Linked DNA regions of Homo sapiens: region 1 is linked to region 2. Evidence: promoter capture Hi-C in human tissues and cell types (Jung and others, 2019). All regions are on one chromosome and are shown on one strand. Each heading gives the region's core, a stretch centred on a gene start or on the middle of the fragment in contact. The rest is flanking DNA. Distances are from core to core; before and after follow the strand shown. Region 1 holds the start of CSNK2A1 (casein kinase 2 alpha 1). Region 2 overlaps FKBP1A (FKBP prolyl isomerase 1A).

Region 1 (7,330 bases), core at 789-3,288, 840 kb before region 2:
TATTTTTAAAGAAAAGTCACCTCACGGGGACCTAACTGTATAATCAGTTGATTAATCAATCTAAGCAAATTTCCAATCTTGCATTCTTTCTTCAAGTCATACACCCTCCCGCAATAGCAAACCAAAGCCAAGTATTTCAAAGTCACAGAAGGACAAAAACATGCCCTGCTAAGACTGCAGGTGAACTTTTGAGAATACCACGGAGGAGAACTAGTATTGGTACTGGACTTTCAGCCCCAGGTCCACCAAGCCAGTAAAGCCAAATGACTTACAACAAAACCCTACAACAACTACAAAGATACTACTCTAAAGCCCTGTCTACAGTCAAATTCTTGACTATAAATTTTACTTAGAACAGAAGAGCCCCAAATATACCAGCTAGTCCCTTTACAGTGACAGGTAAAAGCTACTTACTACACTTACTACCTGCCAGACACTGTAGTAAGCACTTGACACAAATTGTCTTATTTACTCTTCTCCGTAAACTCACAAGCTAGAAAATACCATCATCCCCCTTTTACAGACGGGAAAACTGAGGCTTAGAGAGTTTAGGTCACACAGCTAAGTAGCAATGGCCCTGATATTTGAGAACCTAGGCAGTCTGGTTTTTAACCACTGGGCCTACACTGCACTCCTCAGATGGAATGAAGTCTCCAATTCTTGGAAAAATCTTCCCTTCTTAGTTTTCTTTTTTCTTTTTGAGGCGGAGTCTCGCTCTGTCGCCCAGGCTGGAGTGCAGTGGCGGATCTCAGCTCACTGCCACCTCCGCCTCCCAGGTTCAAGCGATTCTCCTGCCTTAGCCTCCCGAGTAGCTGGGATTACAGGCGCGCGCCACCAAGCCCGGCTGATATTTGCATTTTTAGTACAGACGGGGTTTCACCGTGTTGGTCAGGCTGGTCTCGAACTCCTGACCTCGTGATCCACCCGCCTCGGCCTCCCAGAGTGCTGGGATTACAGGCGTGAGCCACACGCCCGGCCTCTCTTCTTAGTTTTCATTTCCTCTCCCCATGTCCCATTCTCGTAGAATTAAACAGCTGAAAAGTAATCAAGTCTTCCCAAATAATTTGCCACCTTCTTTTCAAAACTCTTTCCTCCACACAAAGCAATAGCCAAGATGCAACTTCTCCTGACCCTGACTCTGCTTCCCCAAAACAAACTACAGAAGCTCCACCCATCACCTGCTTAATCTAGCAATGTTCCAACACTGCAAAAAACACACAACGAAAAACAAAATTGAAAAGTCCTACTCTTTCAAAAGGTCACCAACATATGTATACCCTTAGCCAAGCTTTCTCTCCATACCTCTTTTTCTATCCAGGCTCCTAACTAGTCCTTAACTCCAACTCCAGACGTTCTGCCCCACGTCTTGGTCCCTTCCCCCTTTCGCCCCAGCAACCCCGCCTGGGGTTCTCTCCACCTCGCACCCACTCTGCAGGTGGGAAGCTCAGCCCCGCCCAGAGGGACCCTAAGAAGGCCCCTACTCCAGCTGCCCAGTTTCGCGGGAGGGTTCACTGCACACTACCCAGCAGGCACCACTCCCTCCGCACCCTCCCCCAGCACCCCCCTGCGGCCCCACCCCTCAAGTTCCCTTCCCCCTCTGACGACCCCCTCCTCCAAGTTGTCCCCTAGTCCCCACCCAGTTCAGTCCTCTCCTCTGCAATAAGCTGGACTCCGGCAGCCGGTTCCCACCCTCACATCGGCCTCTGCCCCCAAACCTCGCCCTCCGCCCTGAGGGGTGGCCCCTGGGCCTCCCCGATGGGCTGCAGGGGCCTCGCTTGGTTTATGTGTGAAGGTGGGGGCAGGGGAAGGCGACGGGCCGCTCAGGAGTCTGCTGGAAGCGTGAGGGTCGGCCGCGCTCCGCTGCCCTATCCTGGGCCCACCCCACCCGCCAACGACCTCGCCTGGCTGCTCCCTAGGTACCTGTGGTGGAAGCGGCAGCGGCGGCGGCCGCTCTCCCCTCTGCTCACACAGACAATATGGCGGCGATGGAGGAGGAGACACACGGCTCGGCCGCCAGCCGCAGGGACCAGAGCGAGGCTGCAGCCGCTGCTGCCGGAAGCGGAAACCCCCTCCTACCAGGAGGCGGGGCGAGACAGCTTCCGACTCCGCCCCCAGAGGAATCTCTCTGAATGCGGCCATGCTGGGATGTCCTATTGTAACCTTAGGGATTCAGTTCTGGCCTAGGGTGCAAAATGGAAGGAATCCCCAACGCAAAGCAGAATAAGGAGACTTGCAATAGTTAAGCGCATTTTATTTCAATAGTGTTAACAAGTGACAACAGAGAGAACACGAACCTCCCATTAGGTGAACAGTTGGTTTGACCCAAGTTAAGATGGCGGTACCCAGGTTTCCCACACTTCACCCAGCTGGCCCCCCTTTCTTGAAAAGAACCATGCGCGACCTGCAGAGCTGTAGAGCCAAGCATTCTGGGAGCTGAAGTCTCTTTTGCTCTGACCCCTCGTTTTAAATTAGGGTTTCAGCAACACTTTCTATTCAAACTTGGAGTTCGGAAGAAGTGAATGAAAGTTGGACCCTAGGAAGGGCATGGCGCAGGAGTCTGAGAAGTGAGGATACTAGCTCTCAAGAGACCAAGGCCCAATTCCTTCCTCCTACAGGAGTCCTGCCAAGAGCTGTGCGTCCAAAATACAGTGTTTTTTTTTCCTTCTATCTGCCTCCCACCCCTGCTCTCCTTGCCCGAGCTACCTCCCCAAAACAGCCACAAAGCACTTTCTACCATGCAGAGCTCATCATGGTCTCCCTATGGTCAAAAATCTCCCATGGACCTCTTTATGCACCAAAGATAGCCCAAACTCTTCACTTGACATTCAGAGTCCTCCATAATTTGGCCAAACCCTCCTTTCCAGCCTCCTATTCTGCCACTCTCTTCTCAAATTCCGGAAGATTCCACCCACAAGACTGCAAACAATTCCTGGAACTTAGCTGTGTTGCCTCCCTCCCTTTACACTGGCAGTTACTTCTCTTACTGTCACCTCATGGACTGGATAATTTCTGTATGCCGATTGAACTAATTCAGGGATCCTTTCCTCTAGGGGTCTCCTCTCTGTTTAACTCCCTCCAACCCAGACACTATCAGTCAGTAACCTGAGGACCTCAGTCTGTCTCCTCCATCAGACTGGGAGCCCCCAGTGGACAGGGCTCCATCTGATGATCAACCTCTCCTTTGCAGGCCCTGATAAAAGCTGAAGCGTCTAAGAGTTGCTGAAAGGAGTTCAAGTATTAGTCTCACCTCTGGTGGGACAGAGGTGTGAGCACTGGAACGAGGGTGAGGAGGCCAGGTTCTTTCAGTACCAACCATTATCCCTAACTGTCTCAGAATAGCTGGTTGTCTCAGGAATGGGCCTCTCCACCCTCCACAGCCCTGCCTTCACAGTTTGTCAGCTGACTAGCACCTCTGCTCCCAAAGAGGCACCTCTTCCCCATGTGGGGTTAGGGCTGGTGGTGGCTGCAGACTTATAGTGATGGCCTCAGGGAGGTGGCTGTGGCCTTCTCTGGACCTCATCTGCTAGACAGCTTGTGACATCTGATCCCAATTGCCTGGGAACCCACAACAGTTTTTCTCTCAGTGTCCTGTAACTGGGCCTCAATTTCCCCACTTGTGGACTGAGGAGGTTATACAAGATAATCCCAAAGTTTCTGGGAAGCCATCTTCCAGGAAATGATACCCTTCTACCTACCTCTCGAACGTATCTTTTTGGCTCTTGTGGCTTTGTTTTTCCCAACTGTATTCACATTTGTTTAACTCACAACAATTCATCATTTGCTATGAGCCAGACACTGTGCTAGGTACTGGGGATGTGTTATGAGGAAGACATACACCAGTTGCTCACTGGTGGAGCTTACCTTCTAAAGTGAGAAGCAAGTAATGCACAGGTAAACAAATGCATAAACAAAGTAATTTCAGGTAGCAATAAGTGCTACGAAAGGAAAAGATAAGTAGCTGTGAAGTATAGAGCTTTAGCTTGAGTGGTTCAGAAGGTCCCTTTGAGAAGGAAACAGTAAGTGCAAACGTCCCAAGGCAGGAAAGAGCATCACAAGTTTGAAGAAGGAGGCCATGGTGGCTGAAGCACTGCAAATAAAGGGAAGAAGAGGAAGAAATATGGTGGGAGAGGTGGGCAGGGCATTCAGGTCATGATAAGGAAGCTGGGTTTTCATCTGAGTGTAGTGAGGATATTTCCCATTGCTTAGCCTTCATGCCTTTCCAATCTCAGCCTCTCTCACAGCATTAGTTCTTCATTCTTCTTCCTAGTTCTGGCCTCTATCCATGACTTCATTCAGAGGGCTCACCTGGGCACACATATACAACCCTCATACTCATGCAGGACATAATTGAAACCCAACTCCTGCCGTCTACTACGCCAGCCTCATGTAGGTCTCCGGTCTCAAGAGGCTTCCCATCCCAAGTGTTCACCTAGTTGTAGACTTAACATTTATCCTTAACTCTTACTGTCTCTGATCCCCCACATCACACCTCTCAGGCTAGTCTTTCTGCAAACAACAGCAGCAGAAGCAAGAGTTAAGATGTTGAGAGTACTTGCACTGTGCCACACACTGAATGTTCATCATCTCACTTAATCCTCATGTCAACCTGATGAGGTAGAAACCAAAAGTATCTCACCGTACAGATGAGGAGACTCAGGTTCACAGAGATCACAGGCCATGCCCAAGGTCACATGCCGGAGATGGAGCTTGCATTTCAACCTGGGCCATTAGAGTGACTCTCTCTCTCTCTCTCTCTTTTGAGACAGGATCTTGCTCTGTTGTCCAGGCTGGAGTGCAGTGGCATGATCACAGCTCATTATAACCTTGAACTCCTGTGCTTAAGCGATCCTCCCACCTTAGCCTCCTGAGTAGCTAGGACTACAGACATGCACCACCATGCCTGGCTCATTTTTAATTTAGTAGTATTATTATTACTATTATTATTATTGTACAGATGGGGTCTTGCTATGTTGCCAGGGCTGGTCTTGAACTCCTAGGCTCAAGCAGTTCCCCTGCCTTGGCCTCCCAAAGTGCTAGAATTACAGGCAAAAGTTTTAATCATGCACTAAGAACCTAAGTGTATTTGCTTTCTATTGCTGCTTAACAAAATCACCCCACAATATAGTGGCTTAAAACAACAATATTTTATGTTTGTGTGGATTGGCAGTTTGGACATGTCTCAGCCAGGACAGCTCTTTTCTGCTCCAAGTGGTCTTTCCTGGCTTACTCTTACGTTTGCTGTCAGTGAACAGGCCAGCAAACTGGTTAGAACTCCATGGCCTCATTCACATGTCTGGCAGTTGGTTGGGGTTGTTGGCTTGAGTGCCTTGGTTCTCCTCCATGTTGCTTCTTCAGTAAGCTAACTCAGGCTTACTTACATGACGGCCCCCAGAAGAAAGAAAACAAAAGCAGCAAGATCTCTTCAGATCTAGGCTTAGAAATGATATAGCATCATTTTCACTGTATTATATCGATCAAAGGCAGTCATATGGCCAGCTCAGATTCAAGGAGAGTAGAAATAGATTCCATCTCTTCATGAGAAAAACATCAAATCATACTGCAAGGAGTCATGTGTATAAGGAGGGTGGAATTGTTGTGGCCACCTTTGCAAACATTATATCACATAAGTAATCGTAGGCATGGAACTGGTTAAAGAAATTATGGTACAGCCAGACATGGGGCTATTCACAGCAATGAGAACTAACATTTTTGAGCACTTAATATGTGTCAGACACTGTACAAGATGCTTTACATCTATTAACTCATTTAATCCTCACAACAGCTCTCTGTGGCCAGTACATTTTTAATCCCCATTTTAGAGATTAAGAACACCAAGTCTCAGAGAGGTTAAACAACTAGTCCAATGTCACACAGCAAGTGACAAAGCCATTGAAAAGAATGAAGACAGTATTATGTCCTGACATAGAAATCTGGCCCTGACATTCTGTTATACGATACAAAGCAAGAGACAAACAGTAGTTTGATCAGAAAACATTTAAAAAGCACATTTAAATAATTAGGAGATGTGTGTCTTTTTTTTTTCTGAGATGGAGTTTCACTCTTGTTGCCCAGGGTGGAGTCCAATGATGCCATCTTGGCTCACTGCAACCTCCGCCTTCTGGGTTCAAGCGATTCTCCTGCCTCAACCTCCCGAGTAGCTGGGATTACAGGTGCCCACCATGCCCAGCTAATTTTTGTATTTTTAGTAGAGATGGGATTTCACCATGTTGGCCAGGCTGGTCTTGAACTCCTGACCTCAGGTGATTGCCTGTCTTGGCCTCCCAAAGTCCTGGGATTACAGGCATGAGCCACTGCGTTCAGCTGGAGATGTATGTCTTATAAAAATTAGTAGAATAAAAATTTTTATGTCTTATAAAAATTAGTAGGCCGGGCGCGGTGGCTGATGCCTGTAATCCCAGCACTTTGGGAGGCCAAGGCGGGTGGATCACAAGGTCAGGAGATCGAGACCACCCTGGCTAACACGGTGAAAACTTGTCTCTACTAAAAATACAAAAATTAGCCGGGCATGGTGGTGGGTGCCTGTAGTCCCAGCTACTCAGGAGGCTGAGGCAGGAGAATGGCGTGAACCCGGGAGGCAGAGCTTGCAGTGAGCTGAGATTGCACCACTGCACTCCAGCCTGGGCAACAGAGCGCGACTCTGTCTCAAAAAAAATAAATAAATACAATAAATTAGTAGATCTATATGTCTTATAGTTTTAGATAAATTCAGGAAGAATTTACTACAAACTATTAATGGAGCTTATCTTTGAAGAGGAGAAAAGGAGAAAACTTTTATTTAAACACCTCTGTTTGTGTTGCTTGAATATTTTTTTTTTTTTTTTTTTTTTTTTGAGACAGATTCTTGCTCTGTTGCCCAGGCTGAAGTGCAGTGGCAATGGTCACAGCTTGCTGCAGCCTCAACCTCCAGGGCTCAAGTAGTCCTTGCACCTCAGTCTCCCAAGTAGTTGAGACCACAAGTGTGTGCCATCATGCCTGGCTAATTTATTTTTATGTTTTGTAGAGATAGGGTCTCCCCATGCTGGCCATGCTGGTCACAAACTCCTGGGTTCAAGTGATCCTCCCGCCTTGGCCTCGCAAAGTGCTGGAATTACAGGCACAAAGCCTGGCCTTCTTTGAATTTTTTTATAGCAATCATAAATTTTTATTTCAATACCTTATAAAGAAGAAAATGCTTTTAAAATGTCCTTCAACTTGGCTCCCACCTATGTCTTTTTCTATTTGGTTTTATTTTTATTGTTTTTTGTTTTCTTTTTTGATACCACCCCAGCCCAACCCCTTATCAATTCTGACCCGAAGTTTTGTGGCTACC
Region 2 (6,852 bases), core at 3,592-6,091:
TTGACGTCATCTTCGCCTGGGTCTCCTCCTGAACTGAAATCCTTGGAAAGGGAGCAAAAGGGTTTACAAAACAAGACGGTGCAGAGAGTCTCAAGTCTGTCTACTCCACAGCAGCCTGCTCTTTCCTGTTGCTTTTCAAGGAATCAGCAGAGGGAGACCTGGCCAGCAGCTCCTGGGCAGCAAAGTATCCCCAGACTGTGTTCCTGGTGGTTGGCTCAAGCCACTGAAGCGGTGGTTAAGACTCAAGACCAGGACCTGGAGATTCACAAGGACCACTGGGATACTATTTCACTAATAACCCAATAGAAATGGAGTCACTTCCAAGGCACTCTGCTTTGGGGAAGGGCAGAGTGCCATATACCTTCTACTGGGTAACAGGACTGAAGAAGGCACCTCTACAGACTTATGGCTTCACTACTTGTAGTGAAAGCTCATGACTCACAATGCAGTTTATAGTTGCTCATGAATCTTTGCAGGAGTGTTTCCTATAGGCAGCATTTTACAGGGACAAAATATGGGAAGTTTTAAGATTAAAAAAAAAAAAATGACTAAACTAAACCAAAAATCAAACATAACAAAAAACCAGAATATCCTAAGCCCCAAACCTTCAAAATAAAATAAAGTCCTTGCCATTTACAGTTTGGAGAGGGAAAAGGATTTCTACTTTCAACACGCAGGTGAGTTTCTTAATGACAAAAAGTACAATGAGGCCAGCTGCGGAGGAGGCTCATGCCTGTAATCCCAGTGCTTTGGAAGGCCAAGGCAGGAGAATCACTTGAGGCCAGGAGTTTGAGACTGGCATGAGTTTGCAACCAGCCTGGGCAACACAGCAAGACTCATGTCCCCAATCCTGTTTCTGCAAAAAATTAAAAAAAAAAAAAAAAAAATTTAGCCAGACATGGTCCTAGCTACTTGAGTGGATCAAGTGGGAGATCACTTGAGCCCAGAGGTTTGAGGTTGCAGTGAGCTATGACCGCACAAGTACACTCCAGACTGGGCAACAGAACGAGACTCTGTCTCTTAAAAAAAAAAAAAAAGGTGTAATGGTTGAATGGGTGGAGGTAGGGGGAGCCAGTATTTTTCTGCAGCTTTGCATTTGAAGCCACTCAGAACATTCCCAGATGGGCGTATGGCTCAAGGTCTAATGGTTTAGCTGTTTGCTTTCCCTCTTCTTATTAGACACAGAAGTTCTCTTAACCACCTTTTACTCAGCTGCCTTACTTGGAGACTCATAAAACTCACAGCCTTCGTACCCCAGCATAGTGAAGAGCACTCCCCTCATGCTTTAGTCTCTAGCTCATGATCACTTCTTCATTCCCATATGAGTTCTGTGTTCACAAAGGGAGGAGTGGTTAGCTGTGTTTGTCCCCAAATCCATTTATGGTAGCTATATTTACTGTGTAAATATAATGTAATTAAATAGTATGTAAATCAATAAAATGAGTGTGAATACAAACAGCGGTTCTAGCTGACTCCTGGGAAAGACTCAATAAAGGCAAGTCACTAAAAAACTATTGCTAGTGAATAATCATATGGGAGACTACATTTAGAGAAAGAAATCTTAAAAATCTGGAAAGGTTTGGTTTTTAAATGTTCTCACAATACTCTTTGCTCTACTTTAAAAAAGGTCAAATTGGTTTTTGCAAGAACTATGATGGGAAACTCCACTAGCAGAGCCATCCTCAAAGATAAAGACATAGTCCTTTAGCAAATGATTTATGTTAGAGTTTGAAATCAAATGTTTACAGAAGCCATGTCACTTTTATGTTAGCATACCAACTACCCACTTGTCTCAATCATGATGGGTAAAAAGGGATTCTACATTTAGATAGGCAAAAGATACAAATTCAAATCTTACATTCTTATTATTCCATTTCTGGGTCTCTGTGGCTGTATTCCAGCACAACCTCCCTGAAGTGGGGTTCTGAGAACTCCTTATGAGTGAGGGGTATGACCAAAGGTCCAAGTGCCAACCCAAAGAGGGAACCAGCTCACTCTCACTATCATTTTCCTGAGATCACCAACAGTGCAAGCACATTTCCCATACGCAGTATGGAAATGCTTCTAACCTTTGGCTAAATCCCTTTAGATCCTATAACCAAAAGTGTATTTTCAAAGGCAGGGCCCATGATGGGAAGAATATGCAGGATCCAACGGCAATAAAAAGAACACAGACCAGAATGCATGCCCTGTGGGTGTGTCTCTCCATTTTCCACTTTAATCACAGTATAAATAAGAGGAGTTACTACCACATTATATCGCATGGGGAGGGGGAGAAAGAAATACCACTAGGCCGGGTGCAGTGGCTCACGCCTGTAATCCTAGCACTTTGGGAGGCTGAGGCAGGTGGACTGCCTGAGCTTCGGAGTTTGAGACCAGCCTGGGCAACATGGTGAAACCCTGTATCTACTAAAATACAAAAAATCAGCCGGGCATGGTGGCGTGCGCCTGTAGTCCCAGCTACTTGGGAGGCTGAGGCAGGAGAACTGCTTGAACCCGGGAGGCAGAGGTTGCAGTGAGCCGAGATTGCACCAGGGCACTCCAGCCTGGGCGACAGAGTGAGACTCCATCTCCAAAAAAATCAAAAGAAATACCACTTAACAATAGCTAGCTGGAAGTGGTAGAAATATGCATTTTCTATAGGGTATAATGGTTAAAGGCATGAGTTCTGGACCTCTGTTACAGACTATTATTACAACTCCCTCCCTGGTCTCCCTGCTTCTGCTCTTGCTCTCCTACAGTCTAAACCTGACACAGCAGCCAGACCCTACTACCCCTCGGCTGAAAAACTCCTGTGACTCCCCCATCTCAGGAGATAAAACTCTTAAAATGGCCTACAAGACCCTCTAAGAAGTGTCAAGCCTCCGCCCCTACCACCATCCCTCTGACTTCACCTCTGATTACTCTTGTACTTTTCCAGTCCCAGAACATTGTTTCCTTATGTTCTACATACACACCAGGGATACCTCCACCCGTGGGCCTTTGCATTTGCTGTTCTCTCTGCCTAAAATGATCTTGCTCAAACAGTCACATAGGTTACATCCTTACCTCCTTCAAGTCTTTGCTCAAATGTCACTTTCTCATTGAGGCCTTTGCCAATCTATCTAAAACCTCAACCTTTTCCTATTCCCTCCTTAACACTTACTAGCTTATACACAACAGTCTTGCTTATTAATCATATTTATTATGTCTTTTCCACTACAGTGTGAGATGAAGGCAGGAACTGTGTCTTCTTCACTCCTAAATTCTTGGTAGCCAGGACAGTGTCTTGTACATAGCAGACATTCATCAAGTACTTACAGAAATATCAAAGGTACCCTTTTCTCCTCCTGGCCTGTGTATATACCTGGAAGACGCTTTCCTCCTGCCTGACTGCACCATACACACCCAAGACCAAATGGCACTTCCTCCAAGAAGTTCTAGCCTATAGGTGTAGGTTGCCTGAGGTACTTTCATTGTAACTGACCACTCCCTACAGGGTAAGCTTCTTGAGGGCAACATTGAGGCTTTGCCCAGCTCCTTATATATTCACTGAGTGACCGAGGGAATGCCAGGTCCTAACTGGCCACTCATTCAAACAGTCACTGAATAGCTACTCTATGCCAAGACTGATGGGGAGACCTTGGAGAACAACACTAGTGTGGGTCTGGCCTCCTGGAGCCTTCAGTCGGTTGGGGAAAGAGCAGATGTTTAACTACACGGATCCTGACTATGATGGGGGCTAAGAAAATAGATGGGTGCATTGTTGCAGAATTAGAAGCATGCATGTATGCATCCAAAGTGTTACTTAAGCTGTGCTATAAAGAAAAGAGCCTGTCATGCAGTGGGGAGTGGGGGCAGTGTGGTGGCACCTAAGCAAAGGGGCAGAGACCTCCATGTGGGAAAAGGCTTGGAGCATTCGAGGAATGAATGCAGGCCAAGGTGGCTTGAGCTCCTGGGAGAGGAAGAGCAAATGTAACAGAAAGAGACAGTAGCATCTAAGAACTGGTTATTTCTACCTCCCCGACTTTCTGCACTGCTAGAATACACCTGGTCAAAATCAAAGGGGTCCAGGGGAGGGAATGCAGAGACTTGGTTAAGCTTTTTAGCAGGAAAAGAAAACAAAAAAACAGAAGAAAAAATAGAAGTAAAAATAAACAAATGTCACCATGAGCACCAAAGGGAGAACTGAATGCTATGTGATTAAGTTATTCATAACCTTGGCTTCTTCCATGGGAAACAGCAGGTGACAATATTTTTAGAGAAAATTCCAAGGCAGACAAATGATTTCCAGTTTATGGATACAATAAACCCCTCAGTAATTCATAAAAATCAGTTTAAGCCTAAAAATGTTCTAGTTAAAACATCTATGAGTAAATAGGTGAATTTATGGTATGTAAATTATATTCAATAAAGCTGTTACCAAGAAAAAAAAAGGTCATGGACCCCACTGAAAGGAACCAGAGCTCTTTGAAAGATGGCTGATAATTGGACCAGAGTAGTGAAACCGAGAAATGGATGAAGGAATGGTGGGAGCCTGTCAAAAAGGTACTGGAGCCAGCTTAAAGGGCTCCTACTGGCCAAATTTAGGATGATATTAGCATCAAAAAGAATAATGGGTATCATTGATCTTAAGGCCCTGACAAAAAATTTCAGCCCACAGTACAGTCAAAGCAAATAGAGGGGGAAAAAGTCACTTGCCCCCACTGGGAATGGCAATACCCCATCAGTTAACATTCATTTTTCATTTTAAAAATTGGTAATTAAAGGCTGGGCACGGTGGCTCATGCCTGTACTACCAGCACTTTGGGAGGCTAAGGAGGGTGGATCACTTGAGGCCAGGAGTTTGAGACTAGCCTGGGAAACCTGGCGAAACCCGTCTCTACAAAAAATACAAAAATTAGGACAGGTGGCATGCACCTGTATGCCCAACTATTCAGAAGGCCGGATGGGAGGCCGGGATGGGAGTCTGGGAGGTCGAGGCTACAGTGAGCCATGATCAAGCCACTGCACTCCAGCCTGAGTGACAGAGACACTGTCTCAAAAAATAAAAATAAAATTTGGTATTTAAAGGTAAAGAATTACTTTACCTTATCTTATAGAAGGATAACAGCTAATAAATTTAGAAAGAATGAAGGAATTTTAAAAATCAACACTTTGTGAATGCCAGTGACTTCTTCAGGGGAGAATGATCAGATGGTGTAAACACCACTAGGTGAAAGGCTGATGAGCAAGAGACCATCTATGGCTACCTAAGCACTCCACAGATCACTGCTAAATGCAAAGGGAAAAATGTACCTTTACAGAAAAGATCAAATTTAGCATCACAACTAGTGATGTTTCCCATGTGTGCTGAGGATGAAGTACTCACACTAAAATGTTTAAACGGAATCTATTCAGACACTTAAAAGATTAAACATCCGGTTCAGAAAATCAAGGCAGGGAACAAGTTAAACAATACCATGAGAAAACAGTAAGACAGATGTGGAGTATTCTATAACTAGCCTGCTCTCTTTGAAGAAATCAGAGTTATTAAGAAAAAAACAGCGTAAGGACTCTTCTAGACTGAGATTACAGACATAACAACTGCGATGAGTGAGGCTCAATGGAACTGTGGTTTTAAAAAAGAGCAACACTTTGGAGACAACTGGGTAGTCTCGATAGGCATTTGCTTCACAGCAGGCATCGTTACTCCCATTTTATAGACAGCATGTGGAAGCTGGGAACTGTGGGACAATTTGTTCAAGCTCTCATAGCCCGTTGTATGGCAGGGTCAAGATCAGAACACAGCGAAGAACCCACATGCTCTTTGGGGATCACTGTCCACCTGGCACCACTTCTGCCCACTGCCTGAGCTGGCACTCCACACACCTGGGATACAACCAGTGTCCTGTTTCTGCCTTTGCCCCCAAAAGCCCATTGTCCACACAGTAGCCAGAAGGAGCGTGGGTTGGGGGGGCGGGGGCGGGCATTAAAAGCCAAGCCAGCCAGTGGCTCTCACCTGAGTTAGAAAAAGGCAACGTTTTTATAAAAACCAACGAGGCTCCACCATCCCCTCATCTCCTGCCACATACCCTTTCACACAATCCACTTCCTGTTCCTCTAACGCACCGGTCTTCTTACTGTTCCTCTAATGCACCGAGCAGGCTCCAGCCTCAGGGTCCTGCACTAGCTCTTCCCTCTGCCTGGATACTCTAGACAGCCCTGTAGCTCCCTCTCCAATGTCCTTTGAGTGAATGTTAAAATGCCATTTTTTTCAGAGGCCTTTTCCAATCACCCTCACGAAAAGCAGCCAACTTCCCTTCCCATCCCTCACTCTGCTTTAATCTCTCCAGCGCTTCTTACTACCTGATGTGCTCCATGGCCATACTATCAGTCTCCTCATCATAAGCAAAGCCCCACCAGATCAGGTCTTTGTCTATTTAGTTCACTAGCCATGTCCCTAGAGCCTGGCTTGCTGCTGTTGCTCAAAAAACATCTGCTGTGGGAAGGCAAAGGGACTTGTTGCAGCCCTGCCCAACAGTTACAGCCTGTGTGCCTCAAGACAGCACACGTCAGGGGAAGCCATCTGAGGCATCTCTGCTGAGGGTGAGCCTCCCTCCAGACATCAGATCACCAACCAAGAGATACCTAGCAAGGGAGTGGATGGAATAAAGCAGAGGAGAGGGGGGAACAAAGCTAAGGAAAAGCAAGGGGCTTGAGGGAGGCTGCAGCAAAGTGGCCACACCTGTCCCGGGAGCCTCAGCAGCCTTCCCAGTCAACCTCCTGAGGACATGAGGTTGAGGGGCTCCTGGTTTTTCTCAGTCAGAAACCGGGAGGCTATACCTGACTTAAACCTGATCCCAAGGACAAAATGTCCAGTTAGTTACTTTT

Evidence for each region. The method cuts DNA at HindIII sites, captures the fragments that hold promoters and counts their contacts. A contact is called where the count stands out against the background at its distance.
Region 1: the fragment with the promoter of CSNK2A1 here is called in contact with a fragment that was not itself captured in region 2 in 1 of the 25 tissues and cell types used here (dorsolateral prefrontal cortex).

What each region holds. Positions count from the first base shown.
Region 1 is chr20:541,752-549,081 of GRCh38, forward strand. CSNK2A1 (casein kinase 2 alpha 1) reads right to left here and starts at 2,039. Exons shown (of 14, transcript NM_177559.3): 1 at 1,921-2,039. RefSeq lists enhancers at 359-1,052, 1,746-2,439, 1,925-2,074, 2,095-2,174, 2,285-2,334 and 1 more and a silencer at 1,545-1,604. The HindIII fragment of the contact is 15,109 bases long and covers 1-7,330 here.
Region 2 is chr20:1,382,817-1,389,668 of GRCh38, forward strand. All of the region lies in intron 2 of FKBP1A (FKBP prolyl isomerase 1A), which reads right to left. All of the region lies in intron 2 of FKBP1A-SDCBP2 (FKBP1A-SDCBP2 readthrough (NMD candidate)), which reads right to left. Among named protein-coding and RNA genes, the nearest start is that of MIR6869, 6.7 kb to the right of the region's middle. The HindIII fragment of the contact is 7,512 bases long and covers 1,086-6,852 here.